4 separate regions of the Homo sapiens genome follow, and regions 1, 2 and 4 are each linked to region 3. The links are contacts of gene promoters, found by promoter capture Hi-C in blood cells and fetal thymus (Javierre and others, 2016). All regions are on one chromosome and are shown on one strand. The core of a region is centred on a gene start or on the middle of the fragment in contact, and the rest is flanking DNA. Distances in the headings are between cores, read along the strand shown. Region 1 overlaps MAML3 (mastermind like transcriptional coactivator 3). Region 2 overlaps SCOC (short coiled-coil protein). Region 3 holds the start of NOCT (nocturnin). Region 4 overlaps ELMOD2 (ELMO domain containing 2).

What was found. Contacts are between HindIII fragments. The CHiCAGO score rates a contact against its expected background, and 5 or more counts as called.
Region 1: a contact is called between a fragment that was not itself captured here and the fragment with the promoter of NOCT in region 3, in 1 of 17 cell types (activated CD4 T cells). The highest score is 5.0, in activated CD4 T cells.
Region 2: a fragment that was not itself captured here is called in contact with the fragment with the promoter of NOCT in region 3 in 1 of 17 cell types (fetal thymus); the score reaches 11.6 in fetal thymus.
Region 4: a contact is called between a fragment that was not itself captured here and the fragment with the promoter of NOCT in region 3, in 2 of 17 cell types (fetal thymus and activated CD4 T cells). The highest score is 5.4, in fetal thymus.

The regions. Positions count from the first base shown.
Region 1 is chr4:140,093,461-140,096,887 of GRCh38, reverse strand. The region is part of intron 1 of MAML3 (mastermind like transcriptional coactivator 3); the gene reads left to right. Among named protein-coding and RNA genes, the nearest start is that of MAML3-AS1, 33 kb to the left of the region's middle. RefSeq lists an enhancer at 1,804-1,853. The HindIII fragment of the contact is 286 bases long and covers 1,108-1,393 here.
Region 2 is chr4:140,375,107-140,378,337 of GRCh38, reverse strand. The region is part of intron 1 of SCOC (short coiled-coil protein); the gene reads right to left. Among named protein-coding and RNA genes, the nearest start is that of SCOC, 3.1 kb to the right of the region's middle. The HindIII fragment of the contact is 6,823 bases long and covers 1-3,231 here.
Region 3 is chr4:139,014,257-139,017,689 of GRCh38, reverse strand. It overlaps NOCT (nocturnin), which reads right to left and starts at 1,909. Exons shown (of 3, transcript NM_012118.4): 1 at 1,519-1,909. The coding sequence starts at 1,708. RefSeq lists a silencer at 1,470-1,769 and enhancers at 1,910-2,259, 2,292-3,213, 2,350-3,433. The HindIII fragment of the contact is 5,482 bases long and covers 1-3,132 here.
Region 4 is chr4:140,528,587-140,531,810 of GRCh38, reverse strand. The region is part of intron 3 of ELMOD2 (ELMO domain containing 2); the gene reads right to left. Among named protein-coding and RNA genes, the nearest start is that of ELMOD2, 6.0 kb to the right of the region's middle. The HindIII fragment of the contact is 532 bases long and covers 1,555-2,086 here.

The sequences.
Region 1 (3,427 bases), core at 1-2,500, 1.1 Mb before region 3:
GAAATCATCTTAAAATATTCTCTCAACTTCCTTTTCTCTGCAGGTAGAAAATATTGCACAGAATGTAACTCTCTCGGTATCTTGCTCATCATCGTGAGGGTAAATATTGTACCTTTGTGTGATGGTGTCATTAGGGTTTGTTAATATGTGTGGAACTCATTGTCCCTCAACATGAGCCATCCCAAGACTACTATGTACTTTGTGTTCTTTTAAGGTTTGTCAGGGTTCTCTTCTGCACTGCTCCCACGTGTCAGTCCCCAGCAGCCTCTTGCCACCTCGCCTCTTCTCATATTTTACATCAAATAACTTGCTGTGACTGAGGAATGAGATCGCATAGATTATCAAGGTGAATGTTAAGCAAGAATAAATAGGCCCTGAATGCAGACTAGATGACCCCTTCCACAAGTTACCTCTTTAACTTGTGTGTGGACAAGCATGTGAACTTTCGGATACGTATTTCAGCTTCTCAGAAGTGTGTCTGACTGAGGGTCCATGCTGTATTCTGGTTAGTTAAGGTTTCAAGATAAATGAGCTGTCATTCTGTGACTCATCGAGAACTGTTTTAAGCAGCTACACAGCCTTGGAGAATAAAGGATGTCTAATCATCTCCAGTTTCCTGTCCTGGTTGACGTCATTGTCACCGTCATCATCTTCAACTCCATCAAGTTATTAAGTACCCCAAAGTGCGTAAGTTGCTAGACAAAATATGTTCCATAGACACAACCGTTGGTGTCTAGGAGTCTGCCTTCTTTAAATAGGTAGCACCAGAATGGGTCTAAGGCATACTTAGGTATTGATTGCCCTGTGGTAGGTAATAGAGAGCATCAGCTAGTAATCTGAAAGTACAAATGCAATATCCCAATTGCTGAGAACCTGCTGTGTGTAACAGGAGCCCACAGTGTGTAACTGGGTGCTGAGACTACACAGGGAAATATTACCCAGTCCCTGCCCTTTAGGAGCTTGATCCAATGACAGAAATGTGTATGAAGCACTTAGCCCAGTCTGGAGGTGGGGAGTCCGTGAACAAAGTCAGAGTTATTAGCTGGGTGAAGGGGAGGAGGGGCCTTTCTCTGGAGAGGGTGGAGCCTGAACAGGAAGCAGGAAGCTTCCTGTGGCGGGGTAGGAACCAGTGCAGGTCCCTGCTGCAAGGATTGAGTGGGTGACAGTGGAGAGGAACATGGGTTCTCAGATGTTATTGGGGGGCTCGGAGGGTAGGGCAGAGGGACACAGGGCAATGGAGTTAGAATTCTGTGTTAGGCGGCCCCTGGAAAGAAGAGGGGGCAAGAAGGGCAGTGAGGAGGATGGATTTGGGCTTGAACTAGGGCTGTGGTCTTATCTCTAGATTCTGGGGGCTGGATTTGAGAAATGTGTGTGAAATAAAATTTAGAAAGCTTGCAGAGGATGTAGGAGATGAGGAGAGGGGACAGTTAAGCCTGACCCTCAGCCTGGAGCGCAGGGTGTTGTTGCCAATTGGGGGTCAAGTGGGAGAGAAAGATGAAGGATTCAGGTTTGGATATGCAGATTTGACCGTCTGTGGAGATGCTCCAGAAGCAGTGGGGGGTCCAGACGAGGCTCAGTGTGATCTCCAACATGGACAGTGGTGGGCCTACTGATTTGCTCTGTGAAAGTTGGGGAGAGCAGCTGGGATTTCTGGGAATAGATTAGGCAGGAAGGAGAGGTTCTTCCTATTCAGGCAAATTGAATCTGAAAAAAGAGAGCAAAGAAAGATGTGTGGCACCCCAAGGGCAGGTACTCTGTGACGTCCTTTGAGAAGGAGGCGGGGCTCCTGCCTGAGGCAGGGTCAGGGCAGCCCCAAGGCTGTGGGTGGCTGCAGCCTGGCTGCGGAGAGGCACCTCTGCTGCAGTCAGGGGCTTGGATCCGTCCTGCTGATTGGCCTGGGTTTTGCTCTTGGCACTCAGTGGCAAGCGTCCAGACCTCCACTGGGCTGCCACGCACAGCTAGAAGGGTGGGAGAAGAGGAACTGGTCTTTCCATACAGCGTCTTCTGGCTTTGAGACAAAAGAAAAAGAACAGCTTATTGCACACTTCATGACACAGAGAGACAGCTATTGATCAGCTGAGAAACATTACAGACAGACAGACAGGAAAGGAGGAAGGAAGCGGGAAGATGATCAAATAGTTTGTTCAGCTTGAAGCCGCATTTTTACAAACACAAAGAGCCCAGAAGAAGAGAAAGTTACTTTTGTGTGGGTCCTTAATTAGGAAGTTCACGTTGGCCACCGGCTATCTTAGGAACTACTCTCCATTGTTTGAAGTGCTCTGTCTTCATCAGAGATGGGTCAGGGTGATGACTTAAATGAGCGAGAAAGGAGTAAATTGGTTCCAAGTTTAAGGTTTTCTTAATTAGAAGGCCTGAGAGAAGATGAGTGAGGACAAATCCGAGTTTCCCTGTGTGTGGCTGGCCATGGTTGGCGGTCGCAGCATCACAGCGTTGGCCGGCTGCTGCTTAGCTTTATTTTACTTGTGATTTTTCTTTGTTATGCACCGAACAGATTCCCCTCTCTGGTATTCAGTGGGGAGCATATAGCCGGAGGATAGCAATTAGCTATAGCTAGGCCTGCTCCTCTTTGCACAGCTCAAGATGACGTGTACAATTACTTTGGCACCTCACCAGCTCTTTCAGACCTTTTCCATGCATGATGGGAAGACAGGTCCATTCTCTGAGAGTCCCTCACTCCCTCCCCCTCCCAAATTCCCCCTTACCTGGATGAAATCCTGATGTAAATGGACCTTGCCTGCAAATAGAACTGAAGGGACCTGTTACGTCATCAGGCCTGGCAGAGCTCATTGGCAGAGAAGTTAAGAGTTTTATTTTAGACCCAGAGACCAGGCTGTGCAGATCCAGCTAGAACAGGTCTCTTCTGGCTCAGCCTCAGCTGCTGGCCCTCCTGCTGTGGTTACTGGGGCTCCAAAGGATGGAATGTCAGGGGGATCATGCTGCACAGTGAGCAGGACAACCTGACGGCCAGACCGAATGCACTCCAAAGGAAATCTCAGGCTAGGGTAATACAGCCAAGGTGCTGCCTCTACAATCATGGGAGGTTTCAACCTTCTGGGAGAAAAGCCCTAATGCAGCACATGATGGTATAGATTTGATCCAGGAAGGCAGAGTAAACAAACTATTTAAAGACATGAGTCTTGGCTGGGCACGGTGGCTCACGCCTGTAATCCCAGCACTTTGGGCGGCCGAGACGGGCGGATCACGAGATCAGGAGATCGAGACCATCCTGGCTAACACGGTGAAACCCCATCTCTACTAAAAATAAAAAAAAAATTAAAAAAAATTAGCAGGGCGTGGTGGCGGGTGCCTGTAGTCCCAGCTACTTGGGAGGCTGAGGCAGGAGAATGGCATGAACCCGGAAGGCAGAGATTGCAGTGAGCCGAGATAGTGCCACTGCACTCCAGCC
Region 2 (3,231 bases), core at 559-3,058, 1.4 Mb before region 3:
TCTGATATTAAGGATGACGGTATGGATGAAGATAAAATTGTTTCAAATATTCTTCTTCATTAAAGTATTGCTTTACATATACTGTTTAATTTTTTACAAATAAAATTCAAAAGATAAATACTAGACCATCTAAAATATTAATATGGAATAAATGAAAAAATGTCCATTCATCAGCTCCTAGTCAGGGTTAAATCAAAACAGACTAATCAGGATGTAAATAAGTAAATAAATACTAACATTTTATTATTACAATGAAGACTTCTAAATATTAGAACAAAAAATTTCTATAAAACATGTTCTGCTCCATTGCTAACAATCATTTCATTCAATATGTTCAAAATATATTAAATAATGTCACCAGATTATTACTGAAAACAGATTTGTTAACCAATCTAATCTACTACATTGAAGCAACCTAGACCTGTCAGTGTTATTCTTTCAACAAGTATTTACTGAATATCTTCTATGCCCAAGGCATTGTTATGCCTCCGTATCTTAAACAGTAGAAAGCAGACCTATTAAATAAGGATATCTACATACTAGAACTAGAATCACAATAGAGATATCAGTGTATTACACATTCTCTCACAGCTGTTAATACAAATCTTGTTGTACTTCAGATACTAACATGAAATTTGAAAATGCCCAGTGTACATCTACATAAATCCTGTTACACTTTAGATACTAACATGAACTTCAAATTAAAATGCCCAGTGTACATATACATAAACTTCAAGTTTATAGTTCAAGTTAGATAGCACTCACTAGTCTAGAAAAAAATATGAAATATCCCTTGTATAACATTATTAAATAATTAACTACAAATGGTATACAATTAATTTAATAATGCTGAATAAACCTACTCCAAGTCTTCTAGCATCTGTCCCCTTATCTAAACCGCATTTAAAGTTGCTCTGCCCGACCTCTTTTTCACATTATTTAATTCTCAGGTTCTCTGCATTTCAGATTACTAAAATTTTTCCAACAATTCTTTTTTTAAAAGTTATTCAGCCTACTGTAGTATTTAAAGACCACACTCCAAAAACTATTCCTCTCCATTGAATCAACATGTCTCTTTAACTATAATTGAAGAGGAAGAGTGTCAGTGAAAACTTGATTTGACATTTCCCTGACAGAGAAGCACACCTGTAACCAGGTACTACAGTCATTCTCTTTTCATACCATTTCAACCACTGATCCAGCTAAAAGAGGTCTGAGTAAGATGAGAGAGGCAACAGCCAAAAGCAAAAGTGATCGTGGGAGTGCTCAGCAAGAGTAAGCTGCAATTTGGCATCTGTCTTTGCTAAATAATAAATTAAAAGTGCTTCAAATTTCTCATATCCAATGATTTTAAGGCTACAGCTAGAACGAATTTTCATGATAGCTAAGAAGAGTTATAAGATATACAAGCCAAAGCAACAGATAATCAGAAAATCGACACAGCTGATTTTGAAGTCAGATATAATACAGTGATAGGGTAGTCTTCTTTTGCTTATGTTTCAGACTAATATTTAAATTAAACCAAAAAGTCTGCAAAAACACAAGTATTCCAAACTCACCAATATAAGAGGTAAAGAAAAAGAAGCCAGTTTCTGAAATTCTGACCACATATAATTCAAACAATAGAAAACCTATGCATGGTTTAGCAACAGTGTGACTTCATCTGAAAAAGTGAAAGAAAATAAAAAGCAGAAAAACAGGGTGGAGAGGGCTTATTAAAGGAAAAATTACTCTTACACTCAAGATTAGGGTAGAGGCAGGAGCACAAAAGTAGTGCCACAAGAACAGTGCTATAAGGGTATACAACGCGAGAGAGCACAATTCACACCACAGTCTACGTAAGATTGCATCCCAAGTGTTGCACAGTGAAAAAACCGCCCACTGTATCTGGCAGCCCTACGCATAAGGGCATTACTCTTTAGTACAGTGGACCACAGCATTACCTGCTGCCTTTCCACGACAAAAGAACAAGAAGCAATTGTATTTTATTGTGATGTGATCAAATAGACCCATCTCAAAATGCTACTATTGTATTAATATATATTCAAAGTCTTTCAGTAGATTTAGGGCAATAAACTGATTTGTTTGACATATGGGATCAAAAGACTTGCTGAGTTCTTTATGTCAAAGTATTTTAGCCATGGATTTTTTCTTTTAAAATAGTATTGATCCCCAAACTGCCCAAAGTCTACATTAACACAGTACTACATCATAACAGATACTTAATACTGAGCTTTTCAAATTTTTCAACTATAAAATCCTTTTTTACCTATAGTTGCTATAACATCAATCTAATTCCATGTCAAATATGCTCTTAAGAGTTCACTTTCAACTCCTTCTGCTCCTATATATAAACGCAAATCTGATGAAAAACGAGAAAATTAAGACCAAGTCTGCTCAAGCGTGGGAACACTGAAATGAATTTGGGGCGCTGAGGCTGCTCTGCCTATCCTAAACCACCTTACCCCAGAAATGGACATGGTTCGCTGAGATTCTTCAGCTCTGATGTATGGCTAGGTCAGACCTTTCAAAGGTTTCTCAAAAAACACAGTAAATTCGGGTATCTAGCCTTGGTTAGTGGAAGGGAATCTAGAATTACTTTTTTGATTATTTAAGTCCAGGAGGCAGAACGCATAGAGAGAATACAAACCAGGAAATGTGGCAAACATTGGGACAAGATTCATTTAATTAAATAATTTTTGCCATGCACACACACCTGTGACCAAAGACGATCATCTTACCAAATATGCCCCTATCTTATTTTACAGTTATCTCTAATAGTGTACAATATCCACAATATCACTCTCCTCAAGAGGCAGCCTGGCACAATGATTAACAATATGGATTCAGATTACCTGGATTCAAATCCTAGCTCTGCAATTTATAAGCTCTGGAACCCTGGGCAAGGTTAACACCTCGGCCTTAAGTTTCCTCATTTGTAAAATGTGGATAATAACCGTACGTATCTCATGGGTTTGTTGTGAGAATGAGTGGATAGATACAATGTGTTGGCAACAGTACCTAGTACATAGTAGGTATTCAATAAATGTCTGCTATCGTCTTCTCTACCTTTTAGCTCTAATTTGGGCAACAGAAAGAATTTAAAGAAAACCATCTGGTCCAGCTGCTTCATTTTACAAAATCAAGGCCAAAGATGACAATGGCTTACTGAAGACCACAGAAGTAGTTAGCAACAGGGCCAAGACTACAACAAATGCCCAGTGTTTTTTC
Region 3 (3,433 bases), core at 660-3,159:
CAGAGTAGCTGGGATTACAGGCGAGTGCCACCACGCCCAAGCCCATTGGCCAGGATGGTCACGAACTCCTGACCTCGGGTGATCTACCCGCCTCCGCCTCCCACAGTGCTGGATTACAGGCGTGAGCCACCGCGCCCGGCCTATTTTTTTAAATTTTATAGGCCGGGGGGGCGGTGGCTCACGCCTGTAATCCCAGCACTTTGGGAGGCCAAAGCGGGAGGTTCACCTGAGCTAGGGAGTTCGAGGCCAGCCTGACCAACATGGAGAAACCCCATCTCTACTAAAAATACAAAAATCAGCCTGGCGCGGTGGCGCATGCCTGTAATCCCAGCTTCTCGGGAGGTTGAGGCAGGAGAATCGCTTGAACCCGGGAGGCAGAGGTTGCGGTGAGCCGAGATCGCGCCATTGCACTCCAGCCTGGGAAATAAGAGCAAAACTCCGTCTCAAAAAAAAAAAAAAAAAAAGTTATGTATTGCCTAGTTTTGAAAGAAAAAATTTATCAATTTTTAAAGTATAATTAATTTGTATGTAATTTGTGGCCATGGTAATGTGTGCCCAGGCAGAAACAGAGGTAGCAAAAAAGGAAAACTCAGGGTAGTTATTATGATGTATGAAAACAGCTCTTGGTGAAACTAAGGCCTCACTTTTACAAGATCTTAGATACACAGGACAAAAAATGATGTTAACTATAAAGAGTGGAAGCCTCCAAAAAAAAAAAATCCAAAGAAACGTAAAATGGCCGAGCGCGGTGGCTCACGCCTGTGATCCCAGCACTCTGGGAGGCTGAGGCGGGTGGATCACGAGGTCAGGAGTTCAAGACCAGCCTGGCCAAAATGGTGAAACCCCCGTCTCTACTAAATATACAAAAGTTAGCTAGGCGTGGTGACTGGCGCCTGTAATCCCAGCTACTCGGGAGGCTGAGGCAGGAGAATCGCTTGAACCCGGGAGCGGGAGGTTGCGGTAAGCCGATATCGTGCCACTGGACTCCAGCCTGGGTGACACAGTGAGACTCCATCTCAAAAAAAAAAAAAAAAAAAAAAAAAAAAAACAACGTAAAACGAATCAATGTGTTATTATCACGACTTAAAAAAAAAACTTAATATCTAGACCATGAAAGCTATATAAGCAAATAAGCATCATTTAGATTTTTTTTTCCATAAAAATTTCCGTTAAGTCGTGCAATAAAAAATGTAACCAACATAGTAACTCGCGGCCTCGGAAGGGGGAAATTTAACGGTCAAGAACAAGAAATTCTGAAAGCATGGCCTCTAAGGGTCAAGCGGGAACCTGAATACAGTCTCCCAGTTCTTACTAGCTTTGATGCAAGCCCCAGGCAAGTCGGGGAACAGGGAAAGAGGAAAAAGGGAACGCAGAAGGTTGCTCCGGTAAAGGACCCACTTTCAGGCCAGACTCCACGACCGGCAGCCCCGGGCTTCTCATTCATTCCGCGCGGTCTCCAGGTGGCGGCCGCGCGTTGGCGGCCGTGGCGTTCTCCGCCCGGAACTGGGGTGCACTCACCTGTTCGGGAACACGACCTCGCGGCGCCCGAGGCCGCCGAGGCCGCCGCCAGCAGCCGGGGGGATGCGGGCCTGGGAACAGCAGCCGGCGGGGACAACGGGCGGCGCAGCCCTGGGGCGGGCAGGCGGCGCAGGCCGGGCGCGTCCCTCTGCAGCAGGGCCGAGCAGAGCCGCCGCGGACTATGAAACATGCCGGGCGCCGCCGCCACCACGGCCCCTCGCGCGCCCGAGGAGCGGAGCCCGGCTGGGGCCGAGGGCACCGAGTCGAGCCGACTGTCCGGGCAGTGTGGGCGGATGCTCCCAGGCTCCTTCTCGCGCGGCGCAGGTTCTGGGGAAATCCCGGGCAGCAGAGCCGGAGAGGGAGGTGCAACACCGCTGCGTCGGCACCGTCTGCTGTGAGACCTGGCGAGACCTGCAGGGCGCCCGGCGAGCGCTGCGCGCTGACAAAGCGGGCGCTACCAAGCGGGAGCTGGAGGGGAATCCGCGGGACCCGGCCACTGCGCGGCCACGCCAGGCTCCCTCGACCCGGCGTAATCCTGTTTTAAAAGGAAGCGGGGCTTAGGCTGATTTATAGATAGAATCCGCAGGCGGTCTAAAATAAGAGGTATCCGTTGGAGCTGTTCTGAAGAAAAAAGCGTCCCCTTCCGCTGGCCAGCATGGAAGCGCCCACAGGCTGGGAATCCCGAGACAGTTCCAGGGCTGTGGCCCAGGGGACACGTGTCTGTCAGAGTGGCAGACGGCCTACGTGTGTGCCTGCGCGGGTCTGTGTGGATACAGCAAAAGGCGTCCGCCTCCGACCCCCTCGGCAGTGTGTGATGCGTTAAACGATATTAAGCACAATAAAGCACCGCCTGTGGGCGAGGCGACGATGATTAAAACAGCGTTCTTTTCCTCAAAAGTGTTATACTTAGGCAAAGGGAGCAGAAGGTGGCAAGGGAAGTCAGACCAGAAAGCTCTACAAGGTAGAATGAGATTATTGCCACAAGATGCCAAAGATTGGCTATAGAGATGACAACAGGCCCGGGCTCTCTAGAAGGTTCATTAGAAGGATTGGCATTTGAGTTGGCCTATGACGTGGAGGTCTAGAATTTACCCACGTGAAACTTTGGAGGGGGTGGTGGTGAGTTATAAATGAAAAAAGTAAATAAGGGTGTATTTGGGGAAACAACTCTTAGTCATGTAAGATGGAAGCTAAGGAGTAAGAGGACAGATGCGTGGATAGGTTGTAGTGTGGAAGGAAGGGGATTATAGTAGGCTTAATTCGGTGGATAGCTGCGAGCCGTTGACGTTTTGTAAGCTGAGCAAAGACATGGTCAGGGCTGTGCTTTAATTGGAAATCACATGTCTCTGGTTCATGAAAAGGCAGAAAGGAAATCAGCTGAGATAACAGATACTGTAGACCCGCACCAGGTTACTGTTACTGGAAAAGAAAGGATGGAAGAAACATCTCAGACAGGCTGGGCAGGAAATGATGACTAATCAGGAATAGAAATGGGATGAGGGGGAGGGAAAACCCAAGACTGGATTTTTCTCTGAATGATTCATGAGTTAGAAATGTATTCTATTGGTTTTCCCATGATTTTGCTGATTCCCCTGTGTTGTGGAATTGCAAGCTTTTCATCACAAGAATATTCTAAATATTTTTCAGACCTAGGTTACATATCTAACACCTGTGGATAGAGGGTGTGGACAGATCAGCTGGCACAAGTTGATTACAACTTCTGGCAGACAAGCTCCTTGGAAGTCATTAAAGCCTCAGTTTCAGTTTCCTTATCTATAAAACATAGAATCATACCTTAGTCATTAGGTGAAATAAAAAATGATAATAAGCTACTCTGGGCACACTGTCTATCGAGTAGTCCTGCTCCACAAGGAGCAGTACTTGTAAAAAGAATTTTTTTAAAAAGGTGATAATA
Region 4 (3,224 bases), core at 571-3,070, 1.5 Mb before region 3:
GGTAAGTTGTTTTTCAAGGACTTCGTCCATTTTGTGTAAAATCAAACAATTTACTGGCATAAAGTTGTTCATAGAATCCCCTTATTATACTTTGAATGACTATAGGCTGTAGTGGAAAAGTAGAGGCCCAAAAATGCAAATGTGCATCACTATAGCATTAAAAGAAAACTAAACTAATGCCGTAAAATGTATTTATTATTCAACTATTTAACAGCTACATTATTATTTAAACCCTAAGACGGCAGCTGCAATAAAAAGACAGCCACCAAAAACACCAATAGATTGCCAAAGTATTCCTCCCTAACTTTCAGAAATTCAAATGCCTGTATATGCGTAAGTACAGTGGAGCTTTGCTCCATTGTCATATATTGCATGGAAGCCAGACTTCTTAGCAGAATATTGAATTAGACTCCTCAAATTCGAATAAGTCATTAATTTTTATTTATAAATCCCAGTTTGTTAACCCTTAATATCTAATTGATAAATAGTCCTTAATCTAAAATATAAGCAAATAAGATTCAATTTTTAACAAAGAAAGAATGCACACTGTGGAACAGTGCACAGTCCAACATGATCATACTTCAAGATCACTGCTTTAGGGAATCACTCTGAATAGATTAAAATCACTTTTATTCACAGCAATCATTGGTAATGCTAAGTACTCTCAAGTACCAAAGAGGTTTTCATGAATATCAAATTTCTAAAATGATTATGGTATATATTGGCTTAATTATATTATCATTAATATTATTAGTAACCACTATTTGTTGAATACTTACTAAGTATTGGGCATTCTCTTAGACTGTTTTCATAGTAATATCTCTAATTTCAAAACAACTATGTGGGTATGAATAGCTTTTAGAATGAGAAAATAAGTAACTTGTACACAGTCAAACAACTGGTAATTGATAATATCAGGATTTGAACCCAGACTTTTTTATCGAATAAAAATGTAATTAGGTAAACCAAAATATCACAAAATGAGAAATAGATTTACCCTACAAAGTAAATGGAATATACAAATTAGGTGCAATACACACATAAATTATATTTTTAAATTGATAAGGCTACCTCTGTTTATTGGAAAGTTTGTCTTAGATTTAAAACCTTAAAAGAATAAATCGTTAAGTGATTTAATTTCAGTATTTACCCATTTGTTGACCACTCTCTTTGCAGGATGCCCTCCAAAGTACTATAGCAATTTCTATTTTTGAATAATGAAGTTCATAAGAATACAATTTTAATGTTTACTTTTCAAGTGAACTTTTTAATAGCAAGAAACAGAGGTAAAAAATGATGAACATTTTATTTTTCTTTAACTTGTAACCACTACTTTAAAATCCCCAAACACTCTAGTCTACATTTACCTCTTCCTTCTCTAAACTTCTACTTACAATTACATTCAATTCCAGTCTTCTTTTGTATATCTTTTGAATATCCCAAAGACCCTGGTTGAATACTGAACATGTGGTAGTCATTCAAATCCTTGGACGGATTTGACCAAGGCACTGGAGTTCTTAAATGTAGCATCTTATGTATTGTTCCACTTAAGCTTGGCATGATTTTACCACACATACAATCCCATTAATAAATTCTGTGACCAAAACTGTTGTTACAAATGCAGTTATAACAATTACACTGATAGATGTGATACTGAGTCCCCAGTTCCAGAACCTCTACAGTAAATTAGTAAATAAAAGAAACACTACACTCTATTCTGAAAAAAGTTAATTTTCATTTACTTATTATTCTTTATCCTCTTATTTTTCTCACTTATTCATTCATTCACTCAATAAATATTCAGAGCCTTATCACATTCCAGGCACTGTTTCAGGTACTAGAAAAACATCAGTGAACAAAACAACAACAAAAAATAAACAATGCCTTTTTCTTTTCAGGAATGGAAAAATAAGTAAGTAAAATATTTAGTACGCTAGTGATGGTCTGTGCTATGGTGAAACAATTAAGGAAAGGGGATCATAAAGAGAGACAAAGGTATACCCTTAGGTAGAGAATGGTCATGGAAAATCTCATAGAGAATGTCATAACTGAGGAAAAACCTGAAAATGAGGAAGTGAGCTAAGCTTTTAAGCGGGAGAAGATAATTCTACTTAAACAGAAGACCTGGTGCAAAGGTCATAAACCAGAAGCATGCTGATGTGTTTGGAAAATAACAGGCAGCATAGTGGTGATGACCAGTGAGCAAGGCAAGAACAGTAGTAGATAAAGTCAGAGAGTAATGAAGGGGACCAGATAAGAGTTTTAGTGGACAGCAATGGCAGTGTTGGACAACTTCCAGGCTGAGAGATGTCAAGGTTATTTGGAGGAACACACTACTGAAAAAATTGGTTGGAAGCTGGGATTGTGGGTATAACATAAAGAGCTCAGCTATGGTTTTACTCTCTTTACAATGTCGAGGCTTAAAGAAAACAGATTTCACAGAACAATTCATTCTAGAGGGTTCAGCACCCAAATAGTTCCAAACCAACTTGTTTAAGGTCAGTTTGAAAAACATACACAGTTTCCTATCGAAACAAAGTTAAAGCAGTTATGATCCACAACAGTCCCCAGACAGCATACTAATATGCTATTAGTGCCTCAAGACACTGCCCTCACCAGCAGGAACGGCTGCAGCAGTATCACCTGGGAACATGTTAGAAATGCAATCAGAACCAGACCAGAAATTCCGGGGATGGGGCCCAATAATCTGTGTTTTAATAGGCCTCCAGAAGATTTTGATTCTTCCTTAAGTTTAAGGACTACTCTTGTAATGGACCTGAAATATAACACCTCCCCAAGTGCATCTGCTAAAATTTGTAATATTGTTACTTTGGGAAACTGCATCCTATGTTTCAAATAAAGGAACTATACAAATAAATAAGGTATAAATAAATTTTGAGAACCAGCAACCTGTTAGCTTTCAGGACCTCCACATCCTCATTTTAAAAAATATATTAATCACTCTCTAACAATTCTGAACAAAGGAGTGTAACTCTGGACTCTTCCCCCAAATATTCACTTATATATATGAGTTATTCTTAAATAGACCATTCTTAAAGAGTACAACTAAATCATTAAAGTACCTATTTTAAAGGTTACTCTTCAGAACATAACAGATATGCTTGCAACTCTCAAGAAGGTCTATTTTATTTCTGGCACGATTCATAATACTAGACAGTAGCAAATCAACATTTTTGACCTTGAGCCACATTTTACATCATGAT